2 separate regions of the Homo sapiens genome follow, and region 1 is linked to region 2. The links are contacts of gene promoters, found by promoter capture Hi-C in blood cells and fetal thymus (Javierre and others, 2016). All regions are on one chromosome and are shown on one strand. The core of a region is centred on a gene start or on the middle of the fragment in contact, and the rest is flanking DNA. Distances in the headings are between cores, read along the strand shown. Region 1 overlaps MFAP3 (microfibril associated protein 3). Region 2 holds the start of MED7 (mediator complex subunit 7).

Evidence for each region. Contacts are between HindIII fragments. The CHiCAGO score rates a contact against its expected background, and 5 or more counts as called.
Region 1: a fragment that was not itself captured here is called in contact with the fragment with the promoter of MED7 in region 2 in 1 of 17 cell types (total B cells); the score reaches 5.2 in total B cells.

The regions. Positions count from the first base shown.
Region 1 is chr5:154,039,786-154,043,810 of GRCh38, reverse strand. The region is part of intron 1 of MFAP3 (microfibril associated protein 3); the gene reads right to left. Among named protein-coding and RNA genes, the nearest start is that of MFAP3, 2.8 kb to the right of the region's middle. The HindIII fragment of the contact is 1,540 bases long and covers 651-2,190 here.
Region 2 is chr5:157,140,937-157,144,468 of GRCh38, reverse strand. It overlaps MED7 (mediator complex subunit 7), which reads left to right and starts at 1,604. Exons shown (of 2, transcript NM_004270.5): 1 at 1,604-1,649. RefSeq lists enhancers at 977-1,076, 1,887-1,936. The HindIII fragment of the contact is 9,177 bases long and covers 1-3,532 here.

The DNA of each region.
Region 1 (4,025 bases), core at 171-2,670, 3.1 Mb after region 2:
ATTAAGGCAGGTATATTAGATGCCATGGGAGACACAAGAGTACGTGCATTTGTATTTGGAAAAAAAAATATATATATATATATTATGCCTGCTGTTTTTAATGTAGCAGCTGACATTTGAAACCCAAGAACAGATTTCAAAAAGGAAAACCAAAGTGTCACCTTCTTCTTATCAGTTAAAAAGGGCTATACTATGTTTGTGGATGAAGTTACTTGATAAAATTTTTTATTACCTTTCCTTTTTGTGTGTGTGTGTGTGTGTGACGGAGTTTCGCTCTTGTTGCCCAGGCTGGAGCGCAATGGTGAGATCTCGGCTCACTGCAACCTCCACCCCCCAGGTTCAAGCGATTCTCCCACCTCAGCCTCGCAAGTAACTGGGATTACAGGCATGCACCACCACGCCTGGCTAATTTTTTGTATTTTTAGTAGAGACGGGGTTTCTCCATGTTGGACAGGCTGATCTTGAACTCCCAACCTCAGGTGATCTGGCTGCCTCGGCCTCCCAAAGTGCTGGGATTACAGGCGTGAGCCACCGCGCCCAGCCTATATTACCTTTCTTCAGCATTAATAAATAAAAATGTAATAGATAAGTGTAAGACTCAAGTTTAATCCAACTCCTTTTTCATCTTTCAGGTATACAGAATGTAAGCTTTGCTAGGATCATAAAGAATCAGAAATGTGGATGATTTTACCCCAGAAAACCATGTTGAATATTGACTATATTATTTTTAAAAAAGAGAAGAGCCTATAGCTGTCACCCCTAACAGATTGTCTTGTTGCCGTTCCTGCCAACTTCTGAGGGAAGAAATATTTCCATTCTGTTCCAATTTTCAACACAAATAAGGAAGTAATATGGCTGATTTCCGTTCTGGTGACTCAATATTAAGTTGGCTGAGGAAACTGATGTTTGCAGAAATAGTTCTGGGAAAATGCAAAGCAGGGAAACACATTGATGCCCAGGTGGTATTTTTTTTTTTTAAACTCCAATTATATTGGGATATTAGTGCTTCATTCTCTATAATCAAATGTGTTCTAGGCTGCATTTACAGCTCATCCACCCTTCTCTGCCTGCACTGTCACACTTGGAAAACGGACCAGTTCCTACAGCAGGCACACAAATTGACAAAGCAGCATTCTGAATCGGCAAAGGGGAGAAAAAGCAAATGAAGAGCAGGTTGTTAGCACTACCCTACCCTTTGCAAAGAATAAACACAAAGTTGTTCTGCCTAGACTCAAGCATTATTATAGGGATCTGTAACTAAAAAAGGTTAGTGACATTCAAACAGAAATCACTATCCTGAGGGCCATTTACTCAAAAGTTTCTAATTAAAATAGCCTTTATATTACTACCTTGGAGCTATCACATACCCCATAACTAGCATTTGGTCAGTCTGAGCTCAAACTTCAACATATCTTCTGGCACCTGGAGAAACATCGTCTGTATTTATCAGAGCTTTGCTTTAAACCCAGGATTATTTCAGTTATACCCATAACTTATATCCTTTTTGCCATAGGTATATTTGCTGAATAGCTACTGGATGCAAATGACAAAAACATCAATGAAACAGGCTTAGATTTATGATCTTCCCAGGCCATTTTTCCCCCTCTATAGTCTGAAACATCTCTATTTGAAACTCAGTCTAGTTAAAACAGAACTCCTCTTACCCTCAGATCTACTTGTTCAGCTTATGAACAGCTTAGATAATAGCCAGACAATTCTTCCAGTTTTGCAGTATCAAAATTGTAAGACAATCATGGCTCAGTGGTTAGGAGAATGGGCTCTAGAGTTAAGGTGCCTGATCCTACCCCTGGGTGAAGCCATAGGCTTGCAAGGCCTTAGTTTTCACATTTATTAAATAAAATAATATTAACAGTAACTGCATCATAGGGTAGTTTTGAGGATAAGATGAACTAATGTGGGTAAATTATAAATATATGCTATTGTTATTATTCCACCTCCTACACATTTTTCAATTAAGTCCTGTTGTCTCTGTCCTAACTCATATCCTTTTATCTCACCTGGGTATACCACACTATCCCCTTAATTTCAGAATGGATCTCCTTAACTCCTTTTACCTCTATGATGTATCCAAACACTGTGACACTCAGAATTGGTCCTAAACACAAATCTGAGCAATTCAGGGTAATTTTACAATCTACTGGTGATTTCTCACTGCCCATGAGATAAGCTTAAAATTCCAATTTGGCATTGTAATTCTCCAAGAATAGATTCAGGCAGCAGAACAGAAAGTCATGAGAAGCCCAGAGGTGCCTCTATGTACGATAATTGCTTGCAGGAGGAATGAATGGATTTAAACATTAAGTCTGGTCTTTAGTTTTACCTCTATCACAAATTAGCTATGATGTGCTCCAGTGGTTTTAGTTTCCTCACCTAGAGGCTGATTATCATTATCATTCGTTTCTTTGCTTAAATCCTATAATCTACCCAGCTTTCCTGCCATGGCTGAAAGCCTAAACTACGCTTGTTTTACTTTATTCTCTCTAAATAACTTTTCACCTTACTAGTTGTTCCTTTTGCTTAAAAATCTTTCTGCCCCTTCCCGTCAATATCTTTCTGGGGGAAACTGTACCCTCTCTATAATATTCAACTCTAATTTCATCTTATTCAGGAAACCCTCTCATGCCCACCCTCTTGTCAGATGAGTTTTTTTTTTTTTTGCTCTGTCAGTCCCCTAGCACATTAAGAGTACGCCATTATAAGACTTATCAGTTTTCCTCTTAGCAGTTAGTTATCCGTTCAAAAGACTGTAAGCTTATGAATGATAGAGTCTAAAAACCTTCTGTCCTTAGCACAGGGCCACTGCCTGTGGCAAGTGCTCAAAATTTTGAGTTCAGACACTCATCGACTTGGTAGTGTGAAAGGTGTCTGCTACAAACTTATTAACTTTCCAGAGCTTCAGGCTCTGGAAACTATTGATGGAGAGAGGTGAAGATAAGAAAGACACCTATCTTGAGTTTTAGTAGGCAGAACACTCTAGAGAATCATTTGACTGGTTTTCTCACTCTGTAATTTTCAGACCATTTATATCAAATTAATTTGTGGTGCTTGTTAAAGATGCAGATTTCTTGACCCCACAGACTTATTGAATTGGGATCTCTAGGGGATGCCTGGGCATCTGCATTTTTAATGTGCATATAGGTTTATTGATTTACAAATCAAACTCATATTTCTTTTACTGGCATGACAATCACCGTAATTCAGTGTAATTCTCAAAAGTGTGGTGCAGGAACTCCTGGGTGTCCCTGACACTGTTTCAAAACAATTTACATAATATTAGGACATATCCCTTTTTCACTCACATTCTCACACAATATGGCACAATTTTCTAAAAGTTACATGATGATTGATATTGTAAGAGAATGAAGGTAGAAGTTACGAAAATCTAGCTGTCTTTTATTCAGCCAGACATTAAAGAGATTTGTAACAATGTAAAACAATGCCATTCTCAATAATTTTTCATTTTGGAAAATATCCTTTACAGAAATGCTATCTATGTTAACATATAATGAGTTTATTTTAAAATGAATAACCTTTGTTGAAAGTTGTTTTCTAAAATAGTAAATATTGATAGCTATTATAAACAAAAACCCTTTGAAGTTCTCAATACATTTTAAAAGTATAAAGAAATTCTAAGATCAAAAAGTTTGAGAACTGCTGCTATAATTATCAGCAGCATTTAAAAAATAAGTGGCTTCCCAAGATTCCATACTTTAGCCCCAAATTCTATGCATTTTCCATTACAACAGAAAATCAGAGGAAATGATCCATTTTATATTTAAGCAGGGGTTTTTTTGTTGTTGTTTTTTGGAATTTTAACAAGCTTCCAGGTGATATTGATGAACCTAAATTTAGAGAACCACTGTCAAAAGCAAAGGAAAATATCTGAAGAGTTTTAGAAGTGACAATTACTCTTATCTGGGAATTAAGATGATAATTCCGAGGGCATTAAATGGAGTTGGAAAACATGAGTTCTTAAAGGCTAAGTCCCTTCACCTCTCTGGGAT
Region 2 (3,532 bases), core at 355-2,854:
AAAAAAAAAAAAAAAAAAAAAAGGAAAGAAGGAAATGAGACGTGTCAATATCTGTGCAAAGAGTTCCAGGCAAATGCATTGGCCCCAAGGCCGGGATGTACTTGGCAATTTTGTAGGGCCTGTGATATAGGCCAGGGGAAGGATGTCAGATTTTATTCTAAAAGTCATAGAAAGCCTTGGAGGATTTTGAATAGAGGAGTGATAAGACCGGTCTTATATTTTAAGAAGGTGTGGTAAATAGACTAAGGGAGGACAAAAAATCAAAGAAGTCCAGGTGAGAGATAATGGTGGCATGGCATAGGACCATAGCAGTGGGAACGGTGGTCAGTCATATTTGGAACTTTATTTACTTATTTTTAAATAGATCTAATGCAAAAGGCTGGTATGGTAGTTTCGGTGGGGTATGTGAGAAAGGAGAAAAAGGTGATTCCTTCGATTGAACATTTGCAATTGAGTAAAGTGCAACTGGGGAAAGATGTCTGTCACCACTGGATATGAGGGTCTGAAGTGCAGAGGAAACGGTGTTCCAGGGCCTGCATGTAATCATCCAGCTGATATCTGACTGAGAAGTGGTTGGAGAACTGAGTCCTGGGGCAATCCATTAATCAAATGTGCCAAATGCTGCTGACAGATGGAGTAAAATGAGGACTGGGAACGACCATTGGAAGTCACTGGTGCAGGATACATTGGGGTCAGCGGTGAGGAGAAAAGCTGGATTGGGTTATGCTCAACGTAGATGGATTTCTTCAGGAAATAAATTGATACGTGCGAGGGATTTAAAATGGGGGAGTCCGGAAGTGGTGGTTCACGCCTACAATCCCAGCACTTTGGGTGGCCGAGGCGGGCGGATCACTTCATATCAAGAGCTCGAGATGAGCCTCGCCAACACGGTGAAACCCTGTCTCTACCAAAAATACAAAAAAAAGAAAAAAAAATAGGTGAAACCCCAACTATTCGGGAGGCTGAGGCACGAGAATCGCTTGAATCCCGGAGACTGAAGTTGCAGCGAGCCGAAATCGCGCCACTGCAGTCCAGCCTGGGCGAAAGAGAAAGACTCCGTCTCAAAGAAAAAAACAACAAAAAAACCCTGCATGTCTATATTTTCGAATTTGTATGTAAGACGTCTTAATTGTATGCGTTAAATTAAAAAAGGACAAAAGGAATGGAACTACCAGCAGCGACTAAGTCAGTAAAAGAGTGGTAATGGGGAAGGGGGTGGAATATACGCAGGCGCAATAGCAAGCGTTTCTTTTGGAGGTTATTTTCGTGTCATAAATTTCTAAATTCACGTTAAGTCTTACAAGAGCATGTTAAACATTAAAACATAAGATTGTTTCTGGTCAATAAGGGGTCTATAAAAAATAAAGCAATAAGGTGTCTTGTTCAATTTTATGCCTTAATTCAAAAAGAAACGAAGAAACGGAACCCTCAGCTACGACTTTTAAAAGTCAGTAACGGGTGGATGGGAGGAGTCAAACATACGTAGGCGCAACAGCGAGGGATCGGTCTGAGGCGGAGCTAGAATTTCGTTAAAGGACAGCTCTTACAGCCAATCAAGGACAGAGTCGGTGGCTTCTTCCCGGAGGAGACCGGAAGTTGGTTTCGGCTGCAGAGGGGAAGGCGGCTACCAGTGTAAAGCCAGAGCTGAGGTAAGTGGGCGGCAACGGTTTGGGGCCGCCGCCTGTGTGCGTTTTTTTCTTCCGGACCCCGCAGCTTCCTCTGTGCTGGGCTGGGAACTGGGGAGGCATGGCTGAGTTCGGCCTCCAAAGGCGGTCTTTCGTCTTTCTCTCCCGAGTCTCTCCGAGAGTGCGGTCTCTCCGAGAGCGCGGAGGCCTCGGGGTGGACAGCCTGGAGGAGGGGGCTCTAAGCGTGGCAGTCTCGGGGCTTCCTCCGTGTTGGGACGCCGAGCCGGAGTGGAGGTTGGGAGACCTGGCGTCTAGTCCCCGCGCCGCTGTTTTTCTAAGCTGTGTGGCCTTGGGCGAGTCATTTGCCCTCTCCGGCTCTTTGTAACATGAGAGTAGCCCTCCCTGCCCTTCCTTCTTCTGGGAGCAGTTATGAAACAGCTGAGGTATGGGGGCAGGCGAGGGCGGTAGATCCCAAGCCTAATCGTCAGGTCCATCTGGAGAGGTTTTAAAAGCGACATTCTAGGGCCCATTCACAGTAGACAGAATGAATCAAATCTCTGGGGCTGGGACCCTGGAATGTCTGTCGTCTTCTGGTGAAGCTCCTTCTCCCCCAGTAGAACAAACACTAGATGTTGGATCTTGAGTTAAGAACCAGCTCTGATGCTTGGCTCTGCTTTTATTAAAAATAAGACCTCCATCACCTTTGAAAAGTTCCATCTAGAGAGACAGTAGAGAAAGAAATATAATTTTTGTGATATGCCAGTCCTTATTGTACAGTTAGATGCTTCTCGGCTTAGGGATATAAGAGAGCTTGCCCTTTGGAGCTAAAGGGACCTGGGATAAGAATTCCTGTTGTGCCATTTATTAACCTTTTGATCTGGGGCAACACTTCCCCTCATTGAGACTTCGGATCCTCACTTCTAAAATGAAATTGATAATAGAACTTAATTCGTGGGACCGTGTGGTGGCTCACGCCTGTAATCCCAGCACTTTGGGAGGCCGAGGTGGGCGGATCACTTGAGGTCAGGAGTTCCAGACCAGCCTGGCCAACATGGTGAAAACCTGTCTTTACCGAGAAATACAAAAATTAGCTGGGCGTGGTGGTGCGCACCTGTAGTCCCCAGCTACTCAGGAGGCTCAGGCAGGAGAATCCCTTGAACCCGGGAGGCAGAGGTTGCAGTGAGCCCTGATGGTACCACTGCACTCCAGCCTGGGAGACAGATTGAGCCCTTGTCTCAAAAAACAAAACTAACAACAAAAACCCCAAAAACCTTAATTCATAGAATTGTTAATGAAGATTATGTTACAGAGGCCATAAAAAATGGTACCTGTCATGTAGTTGGCCTTAGGAAAATGGCAGCCGCAATACAGGAATGCACATCGTGTAGGAAAGTACAGAGCAGCACTCCTCACCTAAAAAGGTTTGAGTGGGATGAAACGTGAGCTGTCAAAAATTGTATTTTCTGCCGGGCACGGTGGCTCACGCCTGTAATCCCAGAACTTTGGGAGGTCGAGGCAGGTGGAACACGAGGTCAGGAGATCGAGACCATCCTGGCTAACACGATGAAATCTCGTCTCTACTGAAAATAGAAAACATTAGCCGGGCGTCGTGGCGGGCGCCTGTAGTCCTAGCTACTCAGGCGGCTGAGGCAGGAGAATGGCGTGAACCCGGGAGTCCGAGCTTGCAGTGAGCCGAGATCGTGCCACTGCACTCCAACCTGGGTGACAGAGCGAGACACTGTCTCAGGGAAAAAAAAAATGTATTTTGAAGTACCAGATCACTGTTAATTCTTTGATTTTGGTAATTGTGCTTTGGGTAGAAGAAAACATTCTTGTCACGAGAAAACACACTGAAGTATTCAGGGGTAAAGGAATGAAAAACCAATAAAGCAAATGAAGGAAAATGT